Linked DNA regions of Homo sapiens: all the other regions are linked to region 1. Evidence: promoter capture Hi-C in 16 types of primary human blood cells and fetal thymus (Javierre and others, 2016). All regions are on one chromosome and are shown on one strand. The core of a region is centred on a gene start or on the middle of the fragment in contact, and the rest is flanking DNA. Distances in the headings are between cores, read along the strand shown. Region 1 holds the start of HMGN4 (high mobility group nucleosomal binding domain 4). Region 2 holds the start of H2BC3 (H2B clustered histone 3). Region 3 holds the start of H4C3 (H4 clustered histone 3). Region 4 overlaps H2BC6-AS1 (H2BC6 antisense RNA 1). Region 5 overlaps H2BC6 (H2B clustered histone 6). Region 6 holds the start of H4C5 (H4 clustered histone 5). Region 7 holds the start of H3C6 (H3 clustered histone 6).

What was found. The method cuts DNA at HindIII sites, captures the fragments that hold promoters and counts their contacts. A CHiCAGO score of 5 or more calls a contact.
Region 2: a contact is called between the fragment with the promoter of H2BC3 here and the fragment with the promoter of HMGN4 in region 1, in 2 of 17 cell types (neutrophils and total B cells). The highest score is 9.8, in neutrophils.
Region 3: the fragment with the promoter of H4C3 here is called in contact with the fragment with the promoter of HMGN4 in region 1 in 1 of 17 cell types (neutrophils); the score reaches 5.9 in neutrophils.
Region 4: a contact is called between a fragment that was not itself captured here and the fragment with the promoter of HMGN4 in region 1, in 2 of 17 cell types (neutrophils and total CD8 T cells). The highest score is 6.0, in neutrophils.
Region 5: a contact is called between a fragment that was not itself captured here and the fragment with the promoter of HMGN4 in region 1, in 6 of 17 cell types (total B cells, total CD8 T cells, naive B cells and 3 more). The highest score is 9.6, in total B cells.
Region 6: a contact is called between a fragment that was not itself captured here and the fragment with the promoter of HMGN4 in region 1, in 1 of 17 cell types (neutrophils). The highest score is 5.4, in neutrophils.
Region 7: a contact is called between the fragment with the promoter of H3C6 here and the fragment with the promoter of HMGN4 in region 1, in 8 of 17 cell types (total B cells, activated CD4 T cells, naive CD8 T cells and 5 more). The highest score is 6.8, in total B cells.

The regions. Positions count from the first base shown.
Region 1 is chr6:26,536,496-26,540,727 of GRCh38, forward strand. HMGN4 (high mobility group nucleosomal binding domain 4) reads left to right here and starts at 1,871. Exons shown (of 2, transcript NM_006353.3): 1 at 1,871-2,006. It overlaps TRR-ACG1-2 (tRNA-Arg (anticodon ACG) 1-2), which reads left to right and starts at 1,003; the gene lies at 1,003-1,075. It overlaps TRV-CAC1-6 (tRNA-Val (anticodon CAC) 1-6), which reads left to right and starts at 1,559; the gene lies at 1,559-1,631. RefSeq lists enhancers at 1-67, 157-821, 2,082-2,491 and silencers at 855-1,148, 1,542-1,591. The HindIII fragment of the contact is 7,010 bases long and covers 1-4,194 here.
Region 2 is chr6:26,041,785-26,046,016 of GRCh38, forward strand. H2BC3 (H2B clustered histone 3) reads right to left here and starts at 1,929. Exons shown (of 1, transcript NM_021062.3): 1 at 1,443-1,929. The coding sequence starts at 1,873. The coding sequence ends at 1,493. H3C3 (H3 clustered histone 3) reads left to right here and starts at 3,600. Exons shown (of 1, transcript NM_003531.3): 1 at 3,600-4,085. The coding sequence starts at 3,627. The coding sequence ends at 4,037. It also overlaps the pseudogene H2AC5P. RefSeq lists enhancers at 2,173-2,412, 3,643-3,962. The HindIII fragment of the contact is 16,277 bases long and covers 1-4,232 here.
Region 3 is chr6:26,102,042-26,106,273 of GRCh38, forward strand. H4C3 (H4 clustered histone 3) reads left to right here and starts at 1,892. Exons shown (of 1, transcript NM_003542.4): 1 at 1,892-2,296. The coding sequence starts at 1,907. The coding sequence ends at 2,218. RefSeq lists enhancers at 1,430-1,539, 1,564-2,254. The HindIII fragment of the contact is 10,429 bases long and covers 1-4,232 here.
Region 4 is chr6:26,159,838-26,164,069 of GRCh38, forward strand. H2BC6-AS1 (H2BC6 antisense RNA 1) reads right to left here. Exons shown (of 3, transcript NR_186648.1): 2 at 3,471-3,839; 3 at 437-1,368. It also overlaps a transcript of H2BC5 not described here and the pseudogene LARP1P1. Among named protein-coding and RNA genes, the nearest start is that of H2BC5, 3.8 kb to the left of the region's middle. RefSeq lists an enhancer at 734-1,485. The HindIII fragment of the contact is 1,996 bases long and covers 1,515-3,510 here.
Region 5 is chr6:26,183,860-26,188,091 of GRCh38, forward strand. It overlaps H2BC6 (H2B clustered histone 6), which reads left to right. Exons shown (of 1, transcript NM_003523.3): 1 at 1-371. The coding sequence ends at 317. Among named protein-coding and RNA genes, the nearest start is that of H2BC6, 2.2 kb to the left of the region's middle. RefSeq lists enhancers at 165-224, 3,854-4,232. The HindIII fragment of the contact is 1,735 bases long and covers 1,500-3,234 here.
Region 6 is chr6:26,204,254-26,208,485 of GRCh38, forward strand. It overlaps H4C5 (H4 clustered histone 5), which reads left to right and starts at 357. Exons shown (of 1, transcript NM_003545.4): 1 at 357-768. The coding sequence starts at 392. The coding sequence ends at 703. RefSeq lists enhancers at 145-394, 405-544, 1,865-1,944, 1,995-2,094. The HindIII fragment of the contact is 1,833 bases long and covers 1,378-3,210 here.
Region 7 is chr6:26,223,411-26,227,642 of GRCh38, forward strand. H3C6 (H3 clustered histone 6) reads left to right here and starts at 1,725. Exons shown (of 1, transcript NM_003532.3): 1 at 1,725-2,206. The coding sequence starts at 1,745. The coding sequence ends at 2,155. RefSeq lists enhancers at 1,735-2,351, 2,352-2,967. The HindIII fragment of the contact is 11,157 bases long and covers 1-4,232 here.

The sequences.
Region 1 (4,232 bases), core at 621-3,120:
AGACCTCATCTTATTTAAAATGCTCACCAGGCATGGGGATGATTTATTCTCAGAAATATGGACAAACTAAAACACACACATATGAGACGTTTGTTTGCTTTCAAAGTGAAAAAGTGAACATTCATATGAGTGTCCGGGTTGATGATGCTCCTTATAAAGCTGTCAAATTCTGAGATCAAGGCCCTGCAGTAGAAGCAGCATGCAGTGAGGAGGCCTAGCACAGTTTCGCTTAGTAAAATATTTGAAGAAAAAAAAAAAAAGACCCACAGAGAGACAAATGAAAACTCAGACCACGTCACCGTACAACGGCTTCCAGTTTCCTACAGAATACCAGCCAGAGTCCTTACAAGAGCCTGTAAAGCTGGCCAGAGTCCTTACAAGGGCCTATAAAGCTGGAGGTGGTCTCCCAGGATCTCCTATTCCTCTCCACTGAGCACCGGCCTCCTCAACATAACTCCCAAGCCTGCTTCCACCTCCAGGCCTTTTCCCTAGCGATTTTTCCCTGTTCCAGATCACTCATTTCCCCGATATCAGCATTTATCCCTCATTCATCACTTTCACTGCTGGCCTTTCCTATCCTCTTTCCCTGTTTTATTATTATTTTTCTCCAATCGCTTATCACTATTATTTTGTTTATTTAATGCTTTATTATCCGCTTCCGCCACTGCCATGTAATCTTGAGGGCAAGGGTCTCTCATGTTTTCTTCACCGTTATCTGCAGTGCCTTGAACACTAATACTGGTTGAATGAACGAACGCATTAATGGAGCGGTGATATTGGGGCAGAGAGGATGCAGGGCTTGCTTTTCACCGCCATTTTTCAGCCGGCAGAGACAGACCGAGAAAGGAATGAAGGCCACGGGGCGTGTGCAGAAGTAGCTACCAGAGAGTCCATGCGCTGCGAGCCTGGACCAGCGGGCAAACGCGGCTTACAGGCGTTCACCCAGATATTACGGGTACAACCTAGTTTCTTATGAAATACCTCGCCCCTAAGGTACGCGCAGGGCCAGTGGCGCAATGGATAACGCGTCTGACTACGGATCAGAAGATTCCAGGTTCGACTCCTGGCTGGCTCGGTGTAAGCAGGGTCGTTTTACAACTTTCTGACTCCGCAGGAGTAAGGAAATTCCTGCAAGATAAATTTGCCTGGAAGACTCAGAAGCAAGAGGGGCAGCTCCCGACAACATATGGGGTTATCATTTCTTTGCGGAGCATTCTGCCACTGACCACGTGGTAACGCCAACTACGCCAGAGAAACGCTCGCCCTACCCAAGTTGTGCCCAGCCTTGCCTGGCCATTTTGGCCGAAGAACGAAGGACCGTTCAGAGATTAAATTAAAGTCTCTATTGTGTTCTTCCCTATTCAGTCATTTGTAGAATAAATTCTATGGCTTCAGTTTGAACACTGGAGGGGCTGGGTCTGAGCTTTTCATTGGTTTTTCTGGTTTGAGAGGTCGGTACAGAGACGCACGCGCACATCAGCAAAACACGCACTTGGAACGAAGAAACACGGAACTAGGCAGGAAGAACTATTTACTCTGAAAAATAAGCCCTTAGTGGGTTTCCGTAGTGTAGTGGTTATCACGTTCGCCTCACACGCGAAAGGTCCCCGGTTCGAAACCGGGCGGAAACACGTTTTTTTTTCCTCATCTTACTACGAAATTCTTCCAGTGTGTATCTTTTAAAGACTTTTTCAGGCTGTCATAAATTTCCTGTCTTCTTGTCTTGCTAGATCGGGGCAGCAGTGCTTAGGGCGGGCCTCAGAGGCTCACACACGTATCGCCAGGGGGAGAACCAGCTCTCTCCGGCTTGGACTCGGGGCGGCTCCCCGCCTGCAGCCCCGGAAGCGCATCCTCACCTTCCCTCGCCTTCCTGTTCCTGGCGGAGCCGGGCTCCGCTCGTCTTCTCTGTCTTAGGGCTGGTGCTGGCCCTGCCCACGCCTAGGGCTCCGGCGCGTCACGGGCCTCAGCTGGGATTCCCGCGCCCCTCGGACGGCCACGAGACTCGGGTAAGTGCCTCACAGACTTTGTGCGCTACCCCGGAAAATGAGGGGCGTGGTGGGGGGGGTCCCGCCGCCCTCCGTATACTTAGGACCCTCCTGCCAGCTGGCCCCGGTCATGATTAGGGGCCTTGGGCCCCGTCAGCCCCGCCTGTCTTCCCGTCTCCAGAGTAATCGCAGCATCTCTCCTGAGCTCCGAGTGTGAATCCCTGGGAAAAGCTGAATCCAGAGGTGGGGTCACAGAGAGCCGCAGGCCCGACCGGGATGAGAAGTCCTAATCGGCGTTCTAGGGGCGTTCTAAAAGAAGGAAGGAAGGGGATTTGAAAGGATTGCTCCCGCAGGGCTGTGGCCTTAAAGAGGTGGTGACTGGCAGGTTGGACTGACCTGCCGTGGGCTCTCCCTTCCTCCCCAATTTACCTTCGAGAAACCCTCGTTGAGGAGACACCCAAGGGCTGAGTCCTCCTCCACTTTGACCTTTTGCTATTCCATCACAAAGAAAAAATGGATCCCAAAGTTAAGAAATGGACCAGCACTTGTTTAGAATCAGGACTGGTGCCTTGGTGTTTGGCCTCTTACCTCTGCCACATGGCTTGCTTACAAGTTAATCGGATTAATCAAACGCTTTTATGAGAAAGTTTTGTTGTGTCACCTGGCAGCCTCGGGTGTTCCCTAAGAGGGATTTCTTTCTTAGATGTATTACTACTTTTTCTAGGGATTAGCCAAGCCTAGCCTCTCAGATCATATTGCTCCAGGTTCCCTCAAATGACTAATAAGAATGTGATGTGTTTGTTTTTGTTTGTTTGTTTTTGAGACGGAGTCTCACTCTGTTGTCCAGGCTGGGGTGCAATGGTGCGATCTCGCTCACTGCAACCTCCACCTCGATTCTTGTGCCTCAGGCTCCCGAGCAGCTGGGACTACAGGTGTGTAACACTACACCCGGATAATTTTTGTATTTTTAGTTGGAGACGGAGTTTCACCATATTGGCCAGGCTGGTCTCAAACTCCTGACCTCAAGTGATCCGCCCGCCTCGGCCTCCCAAAGTGCTGAGATTACAGGCATGAGCCACCGCGCCCAACCGAATGTGATATTTTTATGACCATGAGAAAAGAAGGGCTGCATTCTTTGGTGGGTCCGCAAAATTAAAAAAAAAAAAAAAAAAAGAAAAGAAAAGAAAGAAAAGGACAATGTTAATGAGCTGTTTTCTTTTTATCATTTTCTTAAACAGGCTGCTTGGGTAGACGTTGACTTGAAAGGTCCATTCTTTTGTCATCTTGCTGGTTCCCTTAACAAGACAACACCTTGGCTAGCAAGATAATATCTTGGTTAGCAAGACAATAAACTTGGGCATGTGCTCAACAGCAACCTGTCTAATACATTTTCATTTAAAATCCCCTCTGTACTACTCAGAAATATAAGCAAGTTATTATGGTGCCCAGAAAGGGGGCAAAGGTTCCAGGGTCCTAGGAGATGACAAGGATTTATCCTCTTCATCTTTCTCCGATCCCAGTTAGCAGGAATACTTTAGCCTGGAAGGTGAGTGTGCCCCTAACCAACCTTTACAGATGGGTGACTGTTTGGGAGCTTATGGCTCACTCCTTCTCTTTAAAGCAGATGCATTCTGGCAAGCTGCAGCAGCAAACCTACCCTTTTAGACACCCTGCGTTTTCTCATCTTTCCTTTCTACCCCTGCATCTCCCAGTCTCTCTCACTTAACCTCCGTGGAAACTCATGCTGCGTCTCTAATACTTTGGAAGATGAAGAACAAACGCCCTGGAGAGTGACTGACACCATGTGACCTCTTGCTTCTGTAGCACACTGCATCTTGCCTGTGAATCTTTTTTTTTTTTTCTTTTTTTTTTGAGACCGGGTCTTGCTCTGTCACCCAGGCTGGAGTGCAGTGGCACAATCTTGGCTCACTGCAACCTCCGCCTCCCAGGCTCAAGTGATTCTCCTGCCTCAGCTTCCCAAGTAGTTGGGACTATAGGCATATGCCACCACACCCAGCTAATTTTTGTATTTTTAGTAGAAATGGGTTTCACCATGTTGGCCAGGCTGGTCTTGAACTCCTGACCTCAAGTGATCCACCTGCCTCCACCTCCCAAAGTGCTGGGATTACAGGCGTGAGCCACCACGCCCAGCATTTGCCTGTGCATTTTTTATTGTATTTTAATTATATCCTTTATTCTCTCCTTCCTAAGCTTGGTGTTCTTAACTTTCTTCCAGATCTTCCCTCC
Region 2 (4,232 bases), core at 679-3,178, 490 kb before region 1:
GCGGGAAACCTGTGAATTTTTATGGCAAGTTTTGTGAAATGCATAGTTGTGGATTAATATGATTGACAGTAGGCATATGATCTAATGGTAATAAACTGAGGGGGACATAGCAAGGCTTGTTTGTTAATTACCTATTAACGATCAGCCGAGTATCAGCAGAGACAGCAAAACATCCTAGTTTTGAGTTAGAAGACCTAGGTTTTTGTTTTGGCTTATCAATTATGGGTATTGTTTTAGATGAAACATCAAGTATTCTTGATTTCTTATTTCAAAAATAAAAAATAAAAAATAAAGGAAGGAAAAAAGAAGAAAAAAAGAGAAGAAAAGTGTCAGAGTTACTTGAACCAGAGTAACTCCATTTTGAGTGAGGGCTAGGAAAATGAGGCTGAGACTTTCTGGGCTGCATTCCCAGAAAGTCAGTCATTCCTAGCTTCTAGATGTTTACGGTTAAGGGAACAAATAAATAATGTTTACTAAACAGACTCAGACTTAGGAGTGTCCAGATATCCCTATATCTGGAGAACAAAGGCATTCTTAATTTTGTTTAAAGATAATAATGTTGATTCTTGCAAAATATAGTAACTAAGAAAATTAATCCTTTATCACAAACTTGTAGCAGAGCACATCTCCCCATATATACAAGTATTGTACCTAGGGTGGATGCCTTCCTCCTCTTACTTTCGGGAATGTCCTGCTCCGTCTATGGAGTAGTTGTCGTTTCACCACTTTACTTTCTTAGTAAACTTGCATTTACTTTGCACTGCGGACTCACCCTGAACTCTTTCTTGCGCGGGATCCAAGAACCCTCTCTTGGGGTCTGGATGGGGACCTCTTTCCTGTAACATATTTCTGGCCACCACAGAAGGGACTATAGTACAGAAACCCTGACCCAACAGCTACCTTTGGGTAAGTGTTGGAGTTCTGTAACAAAGGAAGAAGGCAGGCAGGCAAAAAATTTATGAAAGAACATACGACAAAATAATTTCTGCTTCAAAACTTCATATTTTTTTAATTTTTTTTTTTTTTTTTTTTTGAGACGGAGTCTCGCTCTGTCACCCAGGCTGGAGTGCCATGGCGCGATCTCGGCTCACTGCAAGCTCCGCCTCCCGCGTTCACGCCATTCTCCTGCCTCAGCCTCCCGAGTAGCTGGGACTACAGGCGCCCACCATCACGCCCAGCTAATTATTTTGTATTTTTAGTAGAGACGGGGTTTCATCGTGTTAAGCAGGATGGTCTCCATCTCCTGACCTCGTGATCCGCCCGCCTCGGCCTCCCAAATTGCCGGGATTAAAGGCAAGAGGCACCGCGCACGGCCCCGTCCAAGTTAACCTTGGCTCTAAAACTTGTCTTCGCTAACATTCCAGTTGATCCTCTAGAACTGAAACAGAATAGCAGCAGCACCACCTTAAGAAATTGTGGTTATAGCTCTCCTTGTGACAAAGTAGGTGGCTCTGAAAAGAGCCTTTGGGTTTGGAAGTGCTTACATAAGCACTTATTTAGAGCTAGTGTACTTGGTAACTGCCTTAGTGCCCTCGGACACAGCATGCTTAGCCAGCTCCCCAGGCAGCAGCAGGCGCACAGCCGTCTGAATCTCCCTGGAGGTGATGGTCGAGCGCTTATTGTAGTGAGCCAGGCGAGAAGCCTCGCCCGCGATGCGCTCGAAGATGTCGTTGACGAAGGAATTCATGATCCCCATGGCCTTGGATGAGATGCCGGTGTCGGGGTGGACCTGCTTCAGAACCTTGTACACATAGATAGAATAGCTCTCCTTGCGGCTGCGCTTACGCTTCTTACCATCCTTCTTCTGCGCCTTAGTGATAGCCTTCTTAGAACCCTTTTTAGGGGCTGGAGCAGACTTAGAGGGTTCAGGCATTGCTATTCCTAAACAGAATAGAAAAGCTACTAACACTCTCCACTACAGAGTAGTACAGAGAACAGTTCAGAGCCCATGTATTTATAGTCCTGAGATTCAAATGACGGTTTAAGATTCCTCACTTCTGATTGGACAAAAGAAACACGGTTTCACTGAGGGGTGGGGTTTATGCAAATATGGAATTTATGTTATCTTTTTCTATTGGATAAAGCACCAAACATAATTGACCAATAGGATAGCTTCCTATTGCAGCCTTGCAGTTTGTATAAAAGGATTTGTTCAGGCGCCATTCCAGCTTGCTTGTCTTTCACAGTTTTCCGCTGCTTTCATAGGTCGCTATTTGCGGACGTGGAAAATGGAGCTAAAGCAAAAACTTGTTCGTCGCTACCGGGCTTGCAGTTCCCAATAGGGCAGAGTCCGTCATCTTTTTCGAAAGGGCAATTATTTTGAGCCGGTCGGAGCCGGTGCGCCAGTGTACTTACAATACCTGGCCGCCGAGATCTTAGAACTGGTGGGCAGCGCCATACGTGACAAGACCCGCAGCATCATCCCCCGCCACCTGCAGCTGGCCATCCGAAACGACGAGGAGGTCAACAAGCAGCTGGGCAACGTCACTATTGCTCAGGGAGGCGTCCTGTCCAATATTCAGGCCGTCCTGTTGCCAAAATAACAGAGCCACGATAAGGCCAAGGTCAAGTAAACACTCAAATCAGAAAACGTAGCTTACACTTGAAACGGCATTTTTCAGAGCCGTCCATAGTTACACAAGAAAGGATGATAACTTGCTTCTGTTAGGGTATTTTTTGCTTTTCGTTTGGATTGGTTTGTTTTGAGACAGTCTAGTTCTGTCACCCAGGCTGGAGTGCAGCGGCGCGATATCGGCTTACTGCAACCTCCACCCCGCCGCTTCACGCGGTTCTCATGCCTCAGCCTCCTGTGTACTTGGGATTACAGGCGTCTGCTACCGCGCCCAGCTAGTTTTTGTATTTTTATGCGAGACGGGGTTTCACCATTTTAGCCAGGGTTGTCTTGAACTCCTGGCCTCTAGTGATCGTCCCATCTCGCCCTCCCAAAATGCTGGGATTACAGGCGTGAGCCACCGCCCCCCTAGCCTAATGGTGTTAAAAAGTTAAGTTTCGAGAAAATAACACCTTCCTTTAGAAAGTACATTTTAGAGTATACAAAGTGAAACTTAAGGCCAACCAAAATAAGACATTTTGAGAACAGGCAGGGTGGGAATGTGACTTGGACTTAGAAAACAAAGGGCAAGGAAACTTGCTGTTCGCCAGTAACAAAATAGCATGGAATCTCATTCTCTGAATATAAGCGTTATTTCCCGACATGAGTCTGAACGTTTCTGGTGGTTTAGTGAGTGTTCACCAGCATTGATAACTTGCGAGACTGTCAGGAATGCAGAATTTCAAGTCCCACTCAAACTTACTGAATCGGAATTTACATTTTAAAAATCCTTAGATACCTTGTTATACACTCTGTTCTTTGGGACTGGATGAACTAGAATTTTAGACAATTTGTCGCTGCAGATAACTGAAACGAAAAGGACAGGATGGGCGGTGGGGCAACTCATCCAATAAGATTGTCTAGTAATGAACCAATCAGTCTGGTCACTCTTCAGCCAATGATTTTATCGCGCGGGACTTTTGAAATATTACAGGACCAATCAGAATGTTTCTCACTATATTTAAAGGCCACTTGCTCTCAGTTCACTACACTTTTGTGTGTGCTCTCATTGCAAATGGCTCGTACGAAGCAAACAGCTCGCAAGTCTACCGGCGGCAAAGCTCCGCGCAAGCAGCTTGCTACTAAAGCAGCCCGTAAGAGCGCTCCGGCCACCGGTGGCGTGAAGAAACCTCATCGCTACCGCCCGGGCACCGTGGCCTTGCGCGAAATCCGTCGCTACCAGAAGTCCACCGAGCTGCTGATCCGGAAGCTGCCGTTCCAGCGCCTGGTGCGAGAAATCGCCCAGGACTTCAAAACCGACCTGCGTTTCCAGAGCTCTGCGGTGATGGCGCTGCAGGAGGCTTGTGAGGCCTACCTGGTGGGACTCTTCGAAGACACCAATCTGTGCGCTATTCACGCTAAACGCGTCACCATCATGCCCAAAGATATCCAGCTGGCACGTCGCATCCGTGGGGAAAGGGCATAAGTCTGCCCGTTTCTTCCTCATTGAAAAGGCTCTTTTCAGAGCCACTCACAATTTCACTTAAAAACAGTTGTAACCCATTCGGTTGTCTATGTTAGTTTCCAGGAGATATAAAGGTGATAACTACACACAAGTTTTGTAACTGCAGACAAGTCTATCAGGCCTTTTCAACCGGTTTTACTGCGAGAAAACAAGCTG
Region 3 (4,232 bases), core at 642-3,141, 430 kb before region 1:
GAAGGGCTTAGGTCTCTTGTTCAATGAATGAGTTTGATCTGATGGGTGAGAGGAAGGTGAAATGGAAAGCGAACGAGAAGCCATACAGATTAGGCGAGTGAGCCTAATCTCTCCCTAACCATAAGATTGAGTATGCCTGAATTCTTCGCAGAGTGGAAGAATCCATTTTAAATATATATATCTACATGTACAGATCCTTTAAATATTTGTTCTGACATTCATTGTTTTTGAGTCACTGTCATTGAGAAAAGTTTAGAAAGGAGATATTAGGAGCAGGAAATAGAAAGTAAATAAAATATCAAAATAAAAATGGGGTTTTATAAATGATATAATAGGCAAAATAAAGGAAAGGCATCCTAGACCTCTGGTTAAAATGAAGATGGCACTTGGCGAGATGTGTTCCAGGGTAGTTCACATGATGTATGTTTTCAGAGAATTGTCATATTGCATATGCTGCTATATTTTTTATTTTCATGAATTAAAAGGCATGTTGAGATTTCAGAGTTTTACTTATGATCTCAGACTCTGCATTTTTTCTCTGTAATGTTTGACATTTCTTCCTAGCTAAGTCTCTAGTTATAAGGTCTGTGTTGTGGCATGTGGACAGTGAGTGGAAGAACCTAAGAACTCAATTTGGGGCAGAAGAATGTAATCAATTATTTCAGAAGTGATACAAACAATATGACATGTAGAGCATTCTGGCCTTTCCTGGGTCTTTTTTCTCCATTCCTGGATTTCTTCTCTTCATGTGAGCAAGTCTGAGGTTACTATATAATGTCTCTCACAGGCCACAGCCCCATTCTAAATATTCCCAATAGAAATTCATTTATTAACCAGAGAGTGGTGGGTGGGGTTGTTTTTGTTTTTTAAACAAAAGTGGATCTTATGGGCATTCTGGAAAGCTCCCGCAGGAAGCTAAGAATAAAATTTTGAATTGAGAAGTCCCTTTCTTCAAACCACATTCAGACCCAATTCTGCTATTCTATTTATTTTTCAAGGGGATTAGCCTTATTTTAACACCAATAATCTTATCACAAAAACCTCCCAGAGGAAGACCCTGTAGATTTTGTAATGACCTTAATCAAGTATTAGCCCTACACTTCAATTAATCCCCAACTGTACAAAACGAATGTTCTTTTCTCTAAAGCTGTAGCAAGTTGAAAGGGGATTAAAAACGGAGGGAAGGGAAGAGTGTTTGGAATTTCAGGCACAGCAAACAGGCACAGCAGACCAGGAAGAGCGTCCCGGGAAAACATATTATCCAGACTTAAGTTTATATTCCCTGTCTCTCTCAGACTTTTGCAGAAAAATGAGTCATTCAACAAATATTTGAATCGAGATAGGGAAAGTGACGAGGAAGAAGTTTGCACTTATGAGGTTTTAATTTGCAATTATTTGGCTACCTTTTTGCCTTCCCAAAACATAGGGTCTTTAGGAGTGAAACTTCATAGCCAAACTTATACCTTGTCCAGCACAGAGAAGGCCATCAAAATGCCTGGTTTAAATAAAAATATTAAAATGATTGGGAGGGTAAATCCCTTGACCTATAAATCTGACCTCCTTTAAACATTATTTGTATGTTCCCCAATAAACTATTCCGTAATTTATTAGTTAGCAAGTGGAAATAAAAAGAAATGTGGAATGGGGCTATGCTTAGCGTCATTAAGCTGACAGGAATACAGCGCATTCAACTTGCAAACACCCTTCCACTCCCACAAAGAGCAAGCTGTCACTGGCCAATCAAAACAATGAACCATAATGAAACAGTTTTTCTTGCTCCACCCACTTGGTGACCAAATTTGAAAAAAAAAAAAAACCGCGCCAACTCATGTTGTTTTCAATCAGGTCCGCCAAGTTTGTATTTAAGGAACTGTTTCAGTTCATACCTTCCACTGCGATAGGAATCATGTCTGGTCGCGGCAAAGGCGGAAAAGGCTTGGGGAAGGGTGGTGCTAAGCGCCATCGTAAGGTGCTCCGGGATAACATCCAGGGCATTACAAAACCGGCTATTCGCCGTTTGGCTCGGCGCGGTGGCGTCAAGCGCATTTCCGGTCTTATCTATGAGGAGACTCGAGGTGTGCTTAAGGTTTTCTTAGAGAACGTTATTCGAGACGCCGTCACCTATACGGAGCACGCCAAGCGCAAAACTGTCACAGCCATGGATGTAGTATATGCCCTAAAACGTCAGGGGCGCACTCTGTATGGCTTCGGCGGCTGAATCTAAGAATACGCGGTCTCCTGAGAACTTCAAAAAACAAAAACAAAAAAACCCAAAGGCCCTTTTCAGGGCCGCTCACAAAGTCGTTTAAAGAGCTGAAATGCGTTGCGAGAATGAGTTTGGATGACAGAAATAACCGTGACATCCTGCATAAGAATGAATTGTGTTTGCCATGACCGGCCACACTGTGACAAAATTTCAAAGCATAAAGTAGGCATAGAGAGGTAAGCGCTAATAAAGTGATTGGCTCCACAAAAAGCATTTTGCTGGGCGCAGTGGCTCACGACTGTAATCCCAGCACTTTGGGAGGCCAAAGCTAGTGTATCACTTGAGATCAAGAATCCGAGACCAGCCTGGCCAAAATGGTGAAACCCCCTCTACCAAAAAAAATACAAAACTTAGCCGGGCGTGGTGGTCTGCACCTGTAGGCCCAGCTAGCCCGGAAGCAGAGATTGCAGTGAGCCGAGATCGCGCCACTCCCCTCCAGCCTGGGAGACAGAGAGAGACTCCTCAAAAAAAAAAAAAAAAAAAAAAAAAAAAATTATGTATTTTAGAGCATTCTAAGAATGGTACTTTGGACTTAACCGAAGGGCTGGAGGCGCGTGTTGAACAAAGGTTATCACCTTTTGGCTCATGCGGCACACAGCTATGTAAATAAAGCATCTTTAGGGACAAGCTCTCATTTGCGGAGGGTTCTATGGCTGTTGTCCTATTGGCCAAAACAAAGTGGTCTAAGTCCGGGCGCGGTGGCTCACGCCTGTATTCCCAGCAGTTTGGTAGGCCAAGGTGGGTGGATCACGAGGTCTGGCGTTCAAGACCAGCCTGGCCAAGATGGTGAAACCCCGTCTACTAAAAATACAAAAATTAGCCGGGCGTGGTGGCGGGCACCTGTAATCCCAGCTACGTGGGAGGCTGAGCCAGAGAACTGCTTGAACCCAGGAGGCAGAGGTTGCAGTGAACCGAGATTGTGCCACTGCACTCTAGCCTGGGTGACAGAGCGAGGCTCCATCCAAAACAAAACAAAACAAAAAAGTGGTCTAATAATCCCCAGAACTGGAGGAAGAACCATAACTTATTGATTTTGTTTTTAACCTTATGTATGCCAGGCATGCTAGCCTTGTATACATACAAGGCTAGAGGAGCAAAGGTGCAGGAAGCCATCTTGAGGGAGTCCCATATTATTGAGAGACCGGCCAGCTGCTGGGAGAGGCTAGTTGTTCATCCTCACTGTATGTGATGAGAATCTGGTGACAGTCCATTGCTGGGCACAGCATTTAGGCAAAATGGCTCTCTGCTATGTCAGGCAAGTGAGGCATATTTTTGCACAATCCTAGTAATTCCGAACTCATTGGGAAACAATGGCAATTACATCCAAGCAAGGAAAGGTCTGTGGTTGATTTTATCTATACAAATTTAAAACATAATGTTTACAACCTTTCATTATAGGACACAATTTTTAAAAAGATGCCAAACTATACAAATAAGTTCAGAAAAGTGAGGTACTATTGAACCGTCTGGAAAACATAAATGTATGTGAAATAATGCAATGCATAGTTTTGCAGGGGACTTTGTTCAAAGTTTCTCGAAATACCATGGTCCAAAGTAGACTAACATTAGCATTGGTTATTTATGATGATCAGTAAGAATACTAAATCAAAAATCAAAGGAAAATTAAACTATGTCTGTTTAAAGAGAAACGTAGTTTACCTCAGACTGAGAGTTAAAACAAGTTTGTGATTCAGGAAGGTGGAATTCAGAACCTAATTGGGCAGCCTCCAACATTTCCATTAAGGTTTGGATTCTTAAAATTTTTCAGTCTTCGGTATGCTCTGGTAGTCTGATGAAACTTACAGATTCTTTTCATAAATAAGATACTTAAAGTAATTCATAGGGTTACAATTGTATTAGACCAATAATATTAAAATAATTATCAAACCACTTGACCGTAATATGTGTGTTTTTGTTGATATACCTAATAGTACTTCGGAAATAAGCAAGCACGATTTCCAGATTC
Region 4 (4,232 bases), core at 1,263-3,762, 380 kb before region 1:
TTTTCTAAATTCTTAAAAGTAAGAAAGAGGGTCTAAGAAAGTAAACTCAGAGCCAGGGACTTGGCCCATGTTAAACCCCAAGCACTACAGCTGGCTTTTACTCAACCCGTGGAAACTGACCAGGGTATAGAGCCTGATATATCTTCTTAGGTGAAGGTGAGACACCAGACCTAAATCTGTCATCTCAAGAGTAGAAGGATGAACCACACATACAAACCCATCACAGATGAATGCAAATAAAAAAGTCAGCTCCGAAGTTGGGTTCTGAGCAGTGTAGATTCTACTGCTAAGGCTTGGACTACAAGCCATCGATGCTTACTTGTTCCTGGCATTCATACCATAGGGATTCAAACACCCAAGCTGAGAATTTAATTTAGGCATATCCCAGGCTGGTTTTGTGCCCCTGAGCACCCGGTAGAAACAAATACAAGTCATCTCTGGAAAAGAAGCTTCATTTTACACCTCAACAAATTGCCACAGCTAAAATATCCCCCCAAAAATGCACAAGGAGCTTCACAATCTAAATTAAACATCATGAAACTAGAAGTATGACTAATGAAAACAAAAGCAACAGACAATGGGAGCTGGGCGTGGTGGCTAATGCCTGTAATCCCAGCACTTCGGGAGGCTGAGGCTGGAGGATTGCTTGAGGCCAAAAGTTTGAGATCCTGTCTCTGAAAAAAAAAAAAAAAAAAAAAAGCAACAGACAATGGAAATGAAAAGGGAGAATTAACAAGATACAGACTTGAGGCCAGGCACGGTGGTTCATGCCTGTAATCCCAGCACTTTGGGAAGTTGAGGCAGGCGGATCACAAGGTCAGGAGTTCGAGACCAGTCTGGCCAACATAGTGAAACCCCGTCTCTACTAAAAGTACACAAAAAATTAGCCAGTGTGGTGGTGTGCGCCTTTAATCCCAGCTACTCAGGAGGATGAGGCAGGAGAATCGCGTGAACCCGGGAGGTGGAGTTTGCAGTGAGCCAAGATCGTGCCACTGCACTCCACCCTGGGCCACAGAATGAGACTCTGTCTCAAAAAAAAAAAAAAACAGACTCGAATTGACTAGTGTCTTTTTGAAAAAAGAAAAAGAGGCCAGGCACAGTGGCTCACGCCTGTAATCCCAGCACTTTGGGAGGCTGAGGCAGGCGGATCACCTGAGCTCAGGAGTTCGAGACCAGCCTGGCCAATATGGTGAAACCCCATCTCTACTAAAAATACAAAAATCATCCAGGCATGGTGGCATGCACCTGTAATCTCAACTACTCAGGAGGCTGAGGCAGGAGAATCGCTTCAACCCAGGAGGCAGAGGTTGCATTGAGCCAAGATCACGCAATTGTCCTCCAGTCTGGGCAACAAGAGTGAAACTCCATCTGAAGGAAAAAAAAAGAAACAAAAAGTCTTATAAATATATTGAGGGACTAAGGAAATACCAAAAGTGACCACATAGATTTGAAAAAAGAACCTAATAGAAATTCTAGAAAATAAACATGTAATTATAAGACAAATTGAAATGAAAAGCTTACTGCATGTGTTTAACAGCAGCCAATTGGACCTACCGGTAGAAATTTAATAAACTATGTAATCAGATCTTAAGGAATTATCTGAAATGCAGAGATAAAAATGCAAAAGTGAGTTTAAGAAACCTGGAATTAGGGCTGGGCAAGGTGACTCATGCTTGTAATCCCAGCACTTTCAGAGGCCAAGGCAGGAGGATTGCTTGAGCCCAGGAGTTGGAGACCAGCCTGAATAATATGGCAAACCCCCGACTCTACTGAAAATACAAAAAATTAGCCAGGCATGGTGGTGCGTGCTTGTGGTCCCAGCTACTCAGGAGGCTGAGGTGAGAGAATCACTTGAGCTAGGGAAATCAAGGCTGCAGAGAGCCATGATCACACCACTGCACTCCAGCCTGGGCAATGAGAGTGAGACCTTGTCTCAAATAATAAATAAATAAATGAAAAGAGACCTAGAATTAGTAGTAAAATATGATCTGACGTTGACCTAATCACAGTACCAGAAGAAACAATCAGGGAGAATGATGCAAATGTGAGATTTAAAAGATCATGGCCAATAATTTTCTAGAATGGATGGATTACTAATAATTAAAAATAATATAAGAAAATAAAAATTGAAACCTAATGTATTGCTCATCAAAGCAAGCCTAGGTTAACAAAGTAAATATTTAAACAGAAAAATGATACAAAAAAAGGGAGTCACTATGTGTGCTGTGAATTAATTAAGCTCTCCAAATTTTTACAGATGTAATACTGATTTTCAAAAGATTGTGACTTCTGTTACATATTGACATATGACCTCACACTAAAGCACTGTTTGAAATTCTGCATGTAGGAGGATAATTGGATAATTGGTTATTTACATGAATTTTGTGTCTAGCTAACCTTATCAAATTCTATTAATCCTAATCAATAGTCGACTGACTTGATTTTAATTGCATATAGTACTATTAGCAAATAAAAATGTTCGATATTCTCTCCCATAACTATTTATTGTTTGCTTTAATCATCTTACTGTGCTAGCTACCATCACAAACAATATGTCACATTAGACATGCTACCAGGTATTGTCTTTTTCCTCCTGTTCATAGAAATGACTTCGGTGGTTGATGATTTATAATTGCTTTTGTGTGTATGTGCATGGATGTGTATATGTAGTCTTCATTGTGTTAATGTAGTTTTTGGTTTTTGTTTGTTGTTGTTGTTGTTTTGAGACAGAGTTTTATCTGTTGCCCAGGCTGGAGCGCAGTGGCCGGATCTCTGCTCACTGCAGCCTCCACTTCCCAGCCTCCCGCATTCATCTCAGCCACCTGAATACCTGAGATTACAGGCGCACACCACCGCACTCGGCTAATTTTTTTGTATTTTTAGTAGAGACAAGGTTTTGTTATGCTGGCCAGGTTAGTCTCAAACTCCTGACCTCAAGTGATCTGCCCACCATGGGGTCCCAAAGTGCTGGGATTACAGGTGTGAGCCACCGTGCCGAGCCCGGTAGTTTCCTTCTAATCTTCTTTTAAGATTTTTTATTAGGTATGATTTATGAATTTTATTCGATCACTTTGACTTCTGAAGAAATCATATGCTTTTTCTTTTTTAACCTGTTGCCATGAAGTATAGATAGATTTCTTTGTGTTGATTCATGCTTTTATTCCTAGTCCAAATCTTATTTGGTCATGGTATACTATTATTTTAAATAATACCTGGGTAAATTTTGTTAATATTTTTCATGATTTTTTTCCATTTCTATTTGCATAAAATCATTCTATGATTTTTTTTTTCTTTTAGATTTAGTCTCGCTCTGTCACCCAGGCTGGAGTGCAGTGGCACAATCTCGGCTCACTGAAACCTCCACCTCCTGGGTTCAAACGATTCTCCTACCTCAGCCTCCTGTGTAGCTGGGATTACAGGCATGAGGCACCGCACCTGGCCCATTCTATTATGTTCTATTTTGGGCTTACCTTTATCAAGTTTCATTATAAAAATTATGGTAGCTCTATAAGCTTAACTGTGGGGCTCCCCATGTCTATTATGTTATCTATTGCCGTGTAACAAATTATCCCAAAACTAATTTCTGTGAGTCGGGAATCCAGAAGTGATTTAGCTAGGTGGTTATGGCTCCGGGTCTTCCTTGAGGTTGAAGTCAAGCTGTAAACATAGGCTGCAATCATCCGAATCCTTGACTGTAGCTGGAGGATTCCCTTCCAAGGTGGCACACTCGCATATCTGGCAAGTTCAAGCCGACTTTTGGGTGGAGGCCTCAGTTCCTTGCCCGTTAGACCTCTCTAGAGGGGTAACTGATTATCTTCAAAACCAAACAACTGTTTTCTCTTAGCAGGAGAAAAAAGAAAGAGAAAGGGGAAGGAATAAGCCGCAATGCCTTTTGTGAACAAGATTCGAAACTTACACACTTCTGCCACACTTTTTAAACGTTATTTATTTATTTCTTAGAGACAGAGTCTTGCTCCGTCACCCAGGCTGGAATGCAGGGACCTGATCTTAGCTTACTGCACCTTGGAACTCCTGAGCTCAAGCAATCCTGCCTCAGACTCCCAAGTAGCTGAGACTACAGGTGTGAGCCATTTCCTCCGGCACATGTTATTCAATATAAACAAGTCACTGAAATCTGGCACATACCCAGAAGTAGAATTAAGCTACACCCTTTCAGATAAGAATAGTAAAAGAACTTATTGAAATATTCCAAAGCCAAAAATGTGGACATT
Region 5 (4,232 bases), core at 1,117-3,616, 350 kb before region 1:
CGCAGAAGAAGGACGGCAAGAAGCGCAAGCGCAGCCGCAAGGAGAGCTACTCCGTATACGTGTACAAGGTGCTGAAACAGGTCCACCCCGACACCGGCATCTCCTCTAAAGCCATGGGGATCATGAATTCCTTTGTCAACGACATCTTCGAGCGCATCGCCGGCGAGGCTTCCCGCCTGGCGCATTACAACAAGCGCTCGACCATCACCTCCAGGGAGATCCAGACGGCCGTGCGCCTGCTGCTTCCCGGGGAGCTGGCCAAGCACGCTGTGTCAGAGGGCACCAAGGCCGTTACCAAGTACACCAGCTCCAAGTAAACTTGTCCCTGCAACTGCCTTAGTAAACCCAAAGGCTCTTTTCAGAGCCACTCACCTTTTCACAATTGGAGCTATATACTGACATGTGAAGATACTAGAAACTCCTGCAGCTGAAATAGGCATGTTTTTAAAACTTAAAATGGCACTCACTGTCTGGGCTGGTGGCTTTATGAAACTCTGGTTTCCGTGTTTTATGAGGTATCACTCGATAGTACCTAAGAGGCAATAGTAATTTCATAGTTTTGCTCTACGAAGAGAAACTTCGTTTCTCAAGAGTCCTTAAAAATACGGGTTTTACCAAAGAAGCCCATATTATGGGGGGCTGGAGCGGGGGTGGGGAAGGAGGAGAGGAGACTGCTGCTTTCAAGTAGTTCTTAATGTTGAATTTGCTTTTTTCCTTTCCTCAATTACTTCAAAAAGGTCTTAATTTGGATTTTTATTTTAGGTTCTAAAGGAAAAAATAAAACCCTCTTCCCTCTACCGCCTCACCTGTCTGGTTTCACCAATTAGACTTGAACAATTCTCAGTGTGCAACCACACTCGCGCTCGCACACAAACACATACACACATTGTTCATTGATCGACAATCCCCATCTCATCTTTATCATGTTCTTAGAGAAGTTGGGTCTCCATTGTTAAGGATTCTCCTAATCACAAAAACTGACTATATACCTATCCCCAATCCAATCATTAATAAGGGGCATGTGATCTTTAGGATAGGTGTAGTCAAATTAATCAGATCCCTGAGGCTAGAAGGAACTCTGCCTTCTCTGGAGAACAAGTCAGGGAACAAAGAAAGTTGTATTAGGAAGAAAGGAGGGAAAATGACTTTTGGGGAGGAGGCATCTGCACTGCCTGATACAAGCAGCTTCCAGGCGAAGGTGGATGGAAGGAATATCCAGTAGGTTGAAAATGGATAGTCATTCCTTCATATTCAAGTGCCAAGCAGTGAATTTTGTACTGAGGACTTCTGCACTGAGAATAGTGGTTCTCAGACTTCAGTGTGCATCAGAATCACCTGGAGAGCTTGTTAAAGGAGATTGCTGAGATAAAGAATATGCTAACCAAGCCTCCTGCTCACGTGGAGTTTTCTTGTGATAAAGATGTGGGAGAAGATTGTGAAGAGTCTGAATGTCAAACAATGAAGTTTAGATTTATTTTGCAGACAATAAGGTTATAGAAAGCTTGTGAGCAAGGACTAACAAAATTATAACTAGTTCTAGGAATATGCTTCTGGTGGCAAGAGACTGGATGCAGTGGAGGGAAATGATGTTGAAGGAGGATAAAGTTTCAAGCCAAAGAAATGGCAGGAGTAATGGAGCAGGGGATACAATAAACAAATCAGAGAGTAGTTGAAGGGATTTCATTCAGTATTTCATCAAATATTGATTGCATTCCCTCTGTGCCAGGCATTGAAATACTTCAGTGAGCAAGATAGACAAGAGACTGCCCTTCTGAGGCTCATATCCTAGTGAAGGAAGAGAGATGATAGACTGGGCATGGTGGCTCACGCCTGTAATCCCAGCACTTTCGGAGGCCAAGGAGGGCGGATCATCTGAGGTCGAGATTTCAAGACCAGGTTGTCCAACATGGCAAAACCCTGTCTCTATTAAAAATACAAAAATTAGCTGAGCATAGTATCACAGGCCTGTAGTCCCAGCTACTTGGGAAGCTGAGGCAGAAGAATAGGAGAATTGCTTGAACCCAGGAGGCGGAGACTGCAGTGAGCCAAGATCACACCACTGCACTCCAGCGTGGGTGACAGAGGGAAATTCCATCTCAAAAAAAAAAAAAAAAAGAAGAAGAAGAAGAAGAATATAGGTCTATTTCACTCAGCAAATGGTAACTCACTCCTGTTCAATGTATTATTTAGTATTATGTCTGCGATTCCTCTCTATCTTTAAATTTGGGATCTCTAGATCTCAGACCCTGAAATCCTAGACTTCTGGTTGTTGACAGGAATCCATGGAGCCCTGGGAGTTCCTTGAGTTTCTGAGAATAATGAGCCTCATAAAATGTCTATGTTCATATGTCTATTTTCAACAGATTCTCAAAGGAGTTTTTGATCCATCTATTACTACAAACTACTCTATTTTTTTTTTTTTTTTTTTTTTTTGATACAGAGTTTTGCTCTTGTTGCCCAGGCTGGAGTGCAATGGCACGATCTTGGCTCACCACAACCTCTGCCACCTGGGTTCAAGCGATTTTCCTGCCTCAGCCTCCTGAGTAACTGGGGTTACAGGGATGTGCCACTATGCCCAGCTAGTTTTTTATTTTTAGTAGAGACAGGGTTTCTCCATGTTGGTCAGGGTGTTCTCGAACTCCCAACCTCAGGTGATCCCCCTGCCTTGCCCTCCCAAAGTGCCAGGATTACAGGTGAGAGCCACAGTGCCCAGCAGAACCACTCTTGAAGGGAAGTCAGCCCATTGAAATATACAGGTTACCACTGCTGAAGACATATAGACTATCTAGTCTACCCATTGATAACTTTTTTTTTTTTTGAGATAGAGTCTCACTCTGTGACCCCAAAGTTGCTAGGACTACAAGCATGTGCCAGCATGCCCGGCTAATTTTTGTATTTTTATTAGAGACGAGGTTTCTCCGTGTTGGCCAGGCGGGTCTCAAACTCCTGACCTCAAGTGATCCACACACCTTGGCCTCCCAAAGAGCTGGGATTACAGGCGTGAGCCACGTGCCTTGCCTGATCTCTAACTTGTAATCAGCCCCACTCTGTTCTGTCTATAATGGAACCCAACAGAGGTGATACCAAGTCGACAGGCTCATTTGGCATCAGCTTTTCTGTAAAGAGCTTTCAGGTCAATGGAAGGACATTCCACAATACTAAATAAGTTTAGTAACAAAACTGAATTTTGTGTGATAAAGTTATGCTGCTTACAAAGAGACTCAACAATAAATAAGCTTAAAGACAGATATTTTTGTTTCATGGAACAAATCCATTGTGATTAGTCCAGCTTTGTGAAGCAGCTCTGCTCCTTGTGATCAATCAGGAAATTTCGTTCCTTCCAAGTCAATGTTCTGTCATCTCCTAGGGCCTGATGTTCTCTAATTGCTCAAAATGAAATCAATACCATTATACTTGGGGAAGAAGGTAACATGGAAGTTTCAAAGCCCAGACCTGGTAGTAACTTTTCTATGTGTCTCACCTGTGTTGGAAATAATGTAGCCACATGCTTACATCTGCTCCCAGAAAGACCAGGAAATGTTGTCTCTTGCTAGATAGCCACCTGTCCAGCTTTCTTTTTATTATGATAAAGTGAAAAAACTTTATTGGAAAAATAAGGGTTTACTCAATATTCTCCACAAATTAAAATCCATTTTGAGGACAGCGAATAATACAGTGGCATACTGATAGTCCTGCGATTGTAAGGACTGGAGTAACCCACTAGGGAATGGCTTACTTATTTTTGTCTCATTTCCTGAGGTGTAAAGGGAAAGAAGGTGGGAATTTAATCATGACAACCTCGGTTTTAAACACCCATTCATGCAACCACAGTAACCTGATCTATGATTTAAGGTAAAATGACTTCTGTTAATAATAAAGTCTAAGACTATTTAAGATAAAAGGACAACAAAAAAAGAACTCGTTCAACATACCTTTAAATTGGCCACGGGTACATAAATAAAAAGTCCTTTTAAATTCAACAATAGAAAATCAGTAGATCTGGATGGAAGGCAGCTCAGAGGAACAGAACCAAACAAGTTGGCCTCTCCCCATTCCACTAAAAAATGTTGAATCTTATGTACTTTCATGGTTGTTTCTCCCACGGTAATTACTACTTTCTTCTTTAAAGAATGTATTTGCCAGTCAAGTGCCTCCAACACACCTCCCATCCCCCCACACCAATAACCATCTGAATGCCATTTTGTCTTCCTTTCATATAACAATGCCTTGGT
Region 6 (4,232 bases), core at 1,044-3,543, 330 kb before region 1:
CTGAACTCCTCATGGAAGGAGATTACTGCAGTTCCGGTCTTGTGAGCCAAAGCTCCTGTTCAATCGTCCTAGAGCATCCCAAGCAGCAAATGATTTTAAACATGTTAATGTATTTAATCTCATTTAGTTGTTAAAATATGCCTAAATTTCCTCTTTGGGAACGCAAGACTTGCAGAGATGACTCCATGGAGAGCGGACTCTGCCGGCGGGAACTGGAGTCGTTGGTGACGTCATCCCAGTCTGATCTGTGAAGGGTAGGGCCAGCAGGCAGCACCAAAGTTCCCGTATGCGCGTTTTCAGTCTTCATTTAGGTCCGAATTCCCGGCATATAAGAATACTACCGTCGCTTGTTTTTCAGATTTTTGCGGCTATTTTCGTTGGTGTGTTGGTCATGTCTGGTCGCGGCAAAGGCGGAAAGGGACTGGGTAAAGGAGGCGCTAAGCGTCACCGTAAGGTCCTGCGAGATAACATCCAGGGCATTACCAAGCCTGCCATCCGGCGCCTTGCTCGTCGCGGGGGTGTCAAGCGCATTTCTGGTCTCATCTACGAGGAGACTCGCGGGGTTCTGAAGGTGTTTCTGGAAAACGTGATTCGTGATGCTGTGACTTACACGGAGCACGCCAAACGCAAGACAGTGACAGCGATGGATGTGGTCTACGCGCTGAAGAGACAGGGACGCACTCTTTACGGCTTCGGCGGCTAATGCTACCGCTTAAACGACTCAGCATCTCGACTTCCCAAATCAAAGGCCCTTTTCAGGGCCGCCCACAGTTTTCCGCAAAAGAGCTCATGACTTGTTAGACGATTGGTTGGTCTCTTTATAAGTTAATTGTTCCTGTCAACAGGTACGTATATTTTTCAGCCGTTTTTTTTTTTTCGTTCCAAATTACATTTGGGGTTTCGGCATACGATTTTTTAGGCTACGATCCTTTTATGTTTATTGTAGTAGGGCCTTAGATTGCACTGAAAAGGCTAGGGTAATAGTGTCTGTTTACCTTACCACTTTTATTTTGAGTACCTAAAAATGCATGGTTTTCGACATAAGTGGGAAAACCGCAAGACACTGCGTAACCGCTCAAAATGGCGGAGAGCGAAGAACAAAGCCGGTGCCTGGCAATGGGCCGGACCCGCGAATTAGCGCAACCAATCATCTTCCTGGAAAGGAGTGTGGGCCTTAAATTCTAGCGGCCTGTTTTCTATTACTTAACCTAACGACCGAGTTTAGGTGTGTAGAAGTTCCTGGGGTAGATAAGCTCACGCAAGGAGAGGTTGCAAGCATTCATTTCGGAATTCTATTAAGCCAACCCAGTTGTCCCTTAGAAGTTATGATATTTGCTGTTTTTTGAATAAAAGAATTTGACTCTCTTTAAACCCTAAAGCTTGAAATTTAGCATTTATCTCACATGAGACAAATGTTTAGGAACTCATGTTTAGGAACTCATGTTCCTGCCTGAGGCAGGAACTGAAACACCAGATCACTTGCATCGAGACCGTGAGACTCCCTATGTTTCATCCATCATGATTGCGTCCTTATCCCTCCCTGATTTCCTGTTTTCTCGCCCTTCTCGCTACATAAGCCCCCCAATTTTGGTCGGGGAGACGGATTTGTGATTTCATCTCCTCCCTCATGAATACTCATAGAATTTTTCCAAACCTACTGAATCTGTATGTAAGGTTGACTCTGTAAGGCATATATATATTCCAGCTCCCCTTCACTGCCACAGAGCGCTCATTCCATCCTGGGATTACTTCTCCCTCTGAAAATAAAGTCTTTGTTACTTCCTGCTTGGATCTCATTGTCTATTGTTCAAAAAAGATATGTCGTCATTCCACAGTTATGCCCCAGATGTCTTGGAGATGTGGTTTGTTTAAAGAAGGATCCAGCCATAACTTCCGTTGTGTCTCCAGTTTTCTTATCTAAAACAGGCTCCTCTCCCCTACTTCCCCATTTTTGAACATTGATTTCTCGGAGACCAGACTTACAGAATGTTTTTGTTTTGCTTTTGTTTTGTATTGGCTTGATTCTTAATCGTTTTACTTGGCTTCTGTACTCCCCATGTCCTGTAAAGTACAAGTGACTTTCATACACTTAATTGAAATCGGGTGAATATGCCTGTCAGGAACAGTTTACAGATGTAATGTACATAGTACACTACATCAGAAACACATGATGTCCGGTTTATGTAAATTCCAAGTGATAGAAAAATCGCAAGTTTGGGCTGGGCACAGTGGCTCATGCCTCTATTCCGAGCACGTTGGGAGGGCAAGGTGGGTCGATCACCTGAGGTCAGGAGTTCAAGACTAGTCTGGCCAACATGGTGAACACCTGACTCTATTAAAAATAAAAAAATTAACTGGGCATGGTGGCAGGCACCTGTAATCCCAATTAATCAGGAGGCTGAAGCAGGAGAATCGCTTGAACCCAGGAGGAAGAGGTTGTAGTGAGCCAAGGTGGTACCACTGCACTCCAGCCTGGGCAACAGAGAAAGACTGCCAAAAAAATTAAAAAAAAAAAAAACCGTTGGTTTAGGGTGATAGTTCCATTGAAAATCAGATTTTTCTTCTAGCCAGCAAGTTGTCCGTAGGCTGATACTTTGAAATCAGGAAAATAAATAGTTACTTTGAATGTCATTTTTAAAAAGTGTGAGCTCGTGCATATATATGAAAAGCATCATGTTATTGGTGCTAAGGCACTAGTTCGAGGAGAAAAAGTTTTATGAGGATGTTAATGTAACAACAGCAACAAAAAGGAGCACATAGCATGTACCAAGCATTGTTCTATGCTCTGGGAATTACAGCAGTGAATGAGAAAGAACAAAACGATATGTGTGCATAGAATTTATATTTATTGGGTGGGGGTACACACACAAAATAAGTGAAACAGTGTGTCAGATGGTGCTGACTGCTATGAAGATCACTGAAGCAGGAAAAGGCATAGCATGTGGAGGGAAGAAGTGATATTTTAAATGATATGGTCTTGAAAAATTTTACTCATAAAGTGATAAAGAAAAAATACATTGAGAAAGTGAGAGAGTATTCTAAATAGAATACCCAGCAGGAAAGCATGGAGGTAAAAAGCAGGTATTATGACTGGAAAAAGGGGCAGAGGTGAGGCAGACAATGGAAGGCAGGACAAGGGACCCCTCCACACTTGTTTACTTGCTGTGCTGACTACAGCAGCACCCAGCTCCATAACCTTGCAGCCACTGAAGCTTCCGCTCATAAAATCAGCCAATCAGACATAAAAGAAATAGAACACTCTAACGACAAACATCCTCGCCATCAGCATAGGGACTTCCAAAAGACCTTCCCCAAATGAACATGTGCTATAGGGACTTTGATTATCCTAACCTAACTTTTGCATCATGTTAATGATAAAATTCATACCCCTGCGTGGAGATTTAAGCTGCCAATGAGACCTGAGACACAGGAAAAAGCATGACAAGGGACTGCAAAGGTGTATCCAACAGACCACCCCAAACATGCCATGATGTCACCTAGACGAAGCTCACAGAAGAATAACAAACTAGACTAGCTTGCTTTCAAGGAGCCAGCTGCAAGTATACCTCTGGTTGCTGTCTCCCTTTCTGCTCAAGCCGAAAGCCCTAATAAACTTCCTTGCTCAAGTCCATCTTAGATTCTTGGTCGATTTCTATTTTCTGAGGGTCAAGAACCCACTGCCAGTATCAGACAGGGTGCAAAGAAAAAGCAAATATGATCTGCGAGGCAAATGGAGACGAGTCTCTATATGGCCTTGCAGACCAGTGTGACTACTGTTTTACTCTGAGTGAGATGGGAGCCACTGCAAGGGTTTGATCGGAGAACTGACATAATCTGATTTATAGACACACACACACACACACACATACACATATATATATATATTTTTTTTTTTTTTTTTTTGAGACAGAGTCTCAGTCTGTCGCCCAGGCTGGAGTGCAGTGGCGCAATCTCGGCTCACTGCAACCTCAGCCTCCCAGGTTCCAGTGATTCTCCTGCCTCAGCCTCCCAAGTAGCTGGGACTACAGGTGTGTGCCACCACGCCCAGCTAATTTTTTGTATGTTTAGTAGAGATGAGGTTTCACCGTTTTAGCCCGGATGGTCTTGATCTCCTGACCTCGTGATTTGCCCACCTCAGCCTCCCAAAGGGCTGGGATTACAGGCGTGAGCCACCACACCGGGCCTGATTTTTATTTTTTTAATGAGCTATCTGGATGCCTGATGAAGAATAA
Region 7 (4,232 bases), core at 475-2,974, 310 kb before region 1:
ACAAAAGGATTTCAGTTCTTCCCTTGCTTCCTATGAAACAATTTTGCCAACATACCTAACCGTTTTACCGTGATTTAAAGTGTACAGAATTTTCTTTTTCTGAAAAGGAGAGAAGCAAGGGACTCATATATATTTCAGATGTGAGATTGAAACGCACGACAATGTGTAATTTCAGTCAAGACTTGCCCACGAGTCCTAAGATAATTCAAATTTGCAAAATAGACACTAACTTGAAAGGTGCAATTGTATCAATCCTGTGGTTAGCAGAATTTTGATGAATGCCCTAAAATAGGGCAGGTTTAACAGAATTCAGGGAATGAGCAGGAATGCACAAAGCATCCTTTGTCTCCTCTCCACTCCAGCTTGCAGACATCCGCGGGCATTTGCGGGCAGTGATAAATTTGGTTTAGCCGTTTCCCCTCCCTGGAGGACGGGGGCTCCAGCATATTCATGATGTCAATCGCCTTGGACTACATGCCAGCGTCATTGCGAACCTGCTACACTTTACAAAATAGCTTTCCAATGAGAAAGAAAACCTACTGGGAAAGAAAAACAAAAAGAAACTAGACCTTGCAACGGGCACGCACGCGCACTATCCCTCTCTGAAATATTTATAGTACGCTTACACAAACGCGAACTTGTAAATCAAAACTCTGCCTGAACCAAAGTAGCCAATAGATTAAAAGTATGTAAATTAGGAATTCCCAAACTGCTCTTTTTATTGGCTAGGAAAAGAACACCTTACAGGGAATCCGATAGGTTAATTCACAATAGTGTTAGGCTGTAATGTCATTCTTTAAGAATCTTTTCCAGTAAACATTTGTTACTTTTTCAAAGTAATTGGGAGCTGTTGAGTGTGGAAGCGAAAACCAAGTTAAGAAGTCCTGTTATTTGGGTGAGTCCAGTTCCTATAAAAGTTCTGTTGGATGTGTCTTAAATTGTTCGGTGCACCTCAGCTCTCTCCCGCAGGGATCCGGAGAAACTGCGCCATTGTTGTCTTACAGAGAAACAACCTTCTAACACTCTCTTCGCCGCCATCTTTTTCAAGATTTTAAATTGAAAATACTTTTTTTGACGGCTCTTGCCATTATGTCTGGACGTTTTAATTTCAACAAAACGAAATAATAGTGTTAAGTTCTTTGAGTCAAACCCGATATTACAGAGGTAGGGATTCCAGGATATTAGAATTTTACTATAACACAAATGAAACACAAAGTTCCTTATGCTTAACAGTGTATCTTAGAAAACCTTGTTTGAGTGAATTAGCCTTGTACTCTATAATGAAACGAGGAATCATTGAGAGATACTTAGGCAACGGATTTTAAATGAGTGAATAAGGAAGGGAAAAACTTCAGGAAAATGCAGAAAAAAGCAGCGGAGATTTTGGAAAAAAAATTCTAAAGCACTTTCTAACGCAAACACATTCGATTTTTTATAGCTAAACAGGATAACAGATCAGTCTATTAAGTTAAATGATCAATGTCTTTGCAGGTCATGGTCTACGTGAAACATCAAAGAAACCTGTAACGGAAAACGACTTGTTTGAAAGAGCCAGTTCTCTATCCAAATTTACCAATCAGAATCTTGCACTGAAAAAATAAACCAATCGTGAATCTCTACGGCCACTTCCGGAATTTAGCAACCGATCACTAACAGGGATCGTCCACAATCCAATCAGAGTGATTCTGTTCCTATATAGAGGGGCAAACCAATCTTCCTAACTCATTTACTTTGCAGATGAACTATGGCGCGTACTAAGCAGACGGCTCGTAAATCCACAGGCGGTAAAGCACCGCGCAAACAGCTGGCCACTAAGGCAGCTCGCAAGAGCGCTCCGGCCACGGGCGGCGTGAAGAAGCCCCATCGCTACCGCCCTGGCACCGTGGCTCTGCGCGAGATCCGTCGCTACCAGAAGTCTACCGAGCTTCTAATCCGGAAGCTGCCGTTTCAGCGCCTGGTGCGAGAAATAGCTCAGGACTTCAAGACCGACCTGCGCTTCCAGAGTTCCGCGGTGATGGCGCTGCAGGAGGCCTGCGAGGCCTACTTGGTGGGGCTTTTCGAGGACACCAACCTGTGCGCTATTCATGCCAAACGCGTGACCATCATGCCTAAAGACATCCAGCTTGCCCGCCGCATTCGTGGGGAGAGGGCGTGAATTGTTTTGAGTACAAACCTTAAATCCAAAGGCTCTTCTCAGAGCCAACCACTTTGTCCGTGAAAAGGGCTGTAATCCTTTGAGACGCATTAGACCACTAAACTGCACTGATCCAAATAGACATTTGAAATAGTGGCATTCAGTTCCCTCGATGCTTCATTTAAATTTCCAAATTTAAGCGCTCCCTCAGGTTTTCGCCTAGGGCTGGGCCTCCCTACGCTGTTCTCCATTGGTTTAGCTGGCTTTGTTTTGCTGTTCAGGCCCTCTGCTGCTTTCTTGTACATTGTTCTCGTTTTCTAAACTCCTGGCCACTTAATTGTACCCTGCTTAACCCATCCTCTTGTTTTCTGGCTCAACGCTCTTTCATGTGGTGGCCTGCATTTTAGGTCTTAACTGCATAGGCTTTCAACGCCTTGGTTTTGCCTTTCCTTGATGTTTATTTGACCTTGCCCGAGGGGCCAGCGCTTTTGATCTGCATCAGGCTGCCTTACTCCACTAGTGTTTTGAGACCCAGCTACTTGCCGGCGACGGTCGGTGCCTTGGGTGCGGTCAACGTTACTCTCTGTGCGCCTGATACTGGTCTAAGGCTAAGGTTATTAGCTGGAACACCTAGACCCGTGGCACTAACACACAGCTCTTGCAGACTTGACAGCCTTGCATAGGTTCTAAACTGCAGGAGTCAAAGCAACGAAGGTGCAGATGGGTGTGTCTCAAACCTGAGTGCGAAAGGAAAATGCAGAAATCATGAGCCTTTTCAACTTTCCAGTTGATATCTTTTGTTTGCTTTTTTCTTTTCTTATTTATTTATTTATTTATTTATTTATTTATTTATTTATTTATTTTGAGACGGAGTTTCGCCCTTGTTGCCCAGGCTGGAGTGCATTGGCGCGATCTCGGCTCACCGCAACCTCCGCCTCCCGGGTTCAAGCGATTCTCCTGCCTCAGCCTTCCGAGTAGCTGGGATTACAGGCATGAGCCACCTCGCCCGGCCTTCCGGCTGATATCTTAAAAGAACTTTTCAACTTTAGTAAATACCCTGTCTTAATCAAATCTCATTAAAAGTACCCCATATTTATCAACAAAACATGAAAATCCTTGGACGGCTTCAAAGTTCTTACAGAAAATATTCTGCCTTTCCTTTCCATACAAAGGCACAGCTTCGAAACTGGTAGGTGAAGGGAAGGAAAATAAGGAATTCTGTTACGAAATCATACAGGCTGTTATTTGGAAATACAGAAGGGTGTATGTACTATATGGGATACTGCATGCTATTTGGAAGAATTTTGTTTATTTAAACATTTCAGCAAATTCCTCAGTTTTGATATGGGGTGCAGTATTTTTAACTCATTGAGAAATTTCTACTAACTTTTTTGAATGTGCTCTTTTCCCACTAGTTGCACTAAGGAAAGAGGTTAGTCATGTGGTAAAATTAATAGTGACAAAGCTGTAAATAGCTCTGCAGGCCAAGGTAGCCATAGTAAGAAGTCCTGGAGATTTATGGAAGAAATTTTTGTTCATGGAAGCCTGTCAGACATGAAGATGTGGGTCTTGTGAATTGGAGATTCAGTGCGTGAGGAAAACAGCCTAACTATCCATAATTAAGGTAACTACTGTCAGATATTTGTAACATAGTGAACATCCTATTATGCTAGATAGAAGCATTCTCTATTTGAATGTTGTTTCCTGTATCCTGTACTTTCTTTAAGATTCTAGCTCAACAAGTTTTAACCTGTATTTCTCTTACAGCTACTGGAATTCAGTACGTGAGGACTTGGACTTGGTGGGCACAGAATGCATCTTTTTATATCATTAAATCCACCAGAACATCTAGCATGGTCATTTGCCTAAAACAAAGCCTCTGGAAATTTAGTCAAGTTGAGATGTAAAATAAAAGATTACTGAACAGAATTTAACATTGAGTGCATTCCTATTTACAAAAATAAAAGATTAGATAAAGTTTATATAATTTTAATATATAGTTTTTCTAAATAGGAAAAATCCACACTTATTGAGTGGCTGCAATGGGCCAGAAGTCATGCAGTATTTTATGAAGCCTCCAAAAATGTAAGTTCAATAG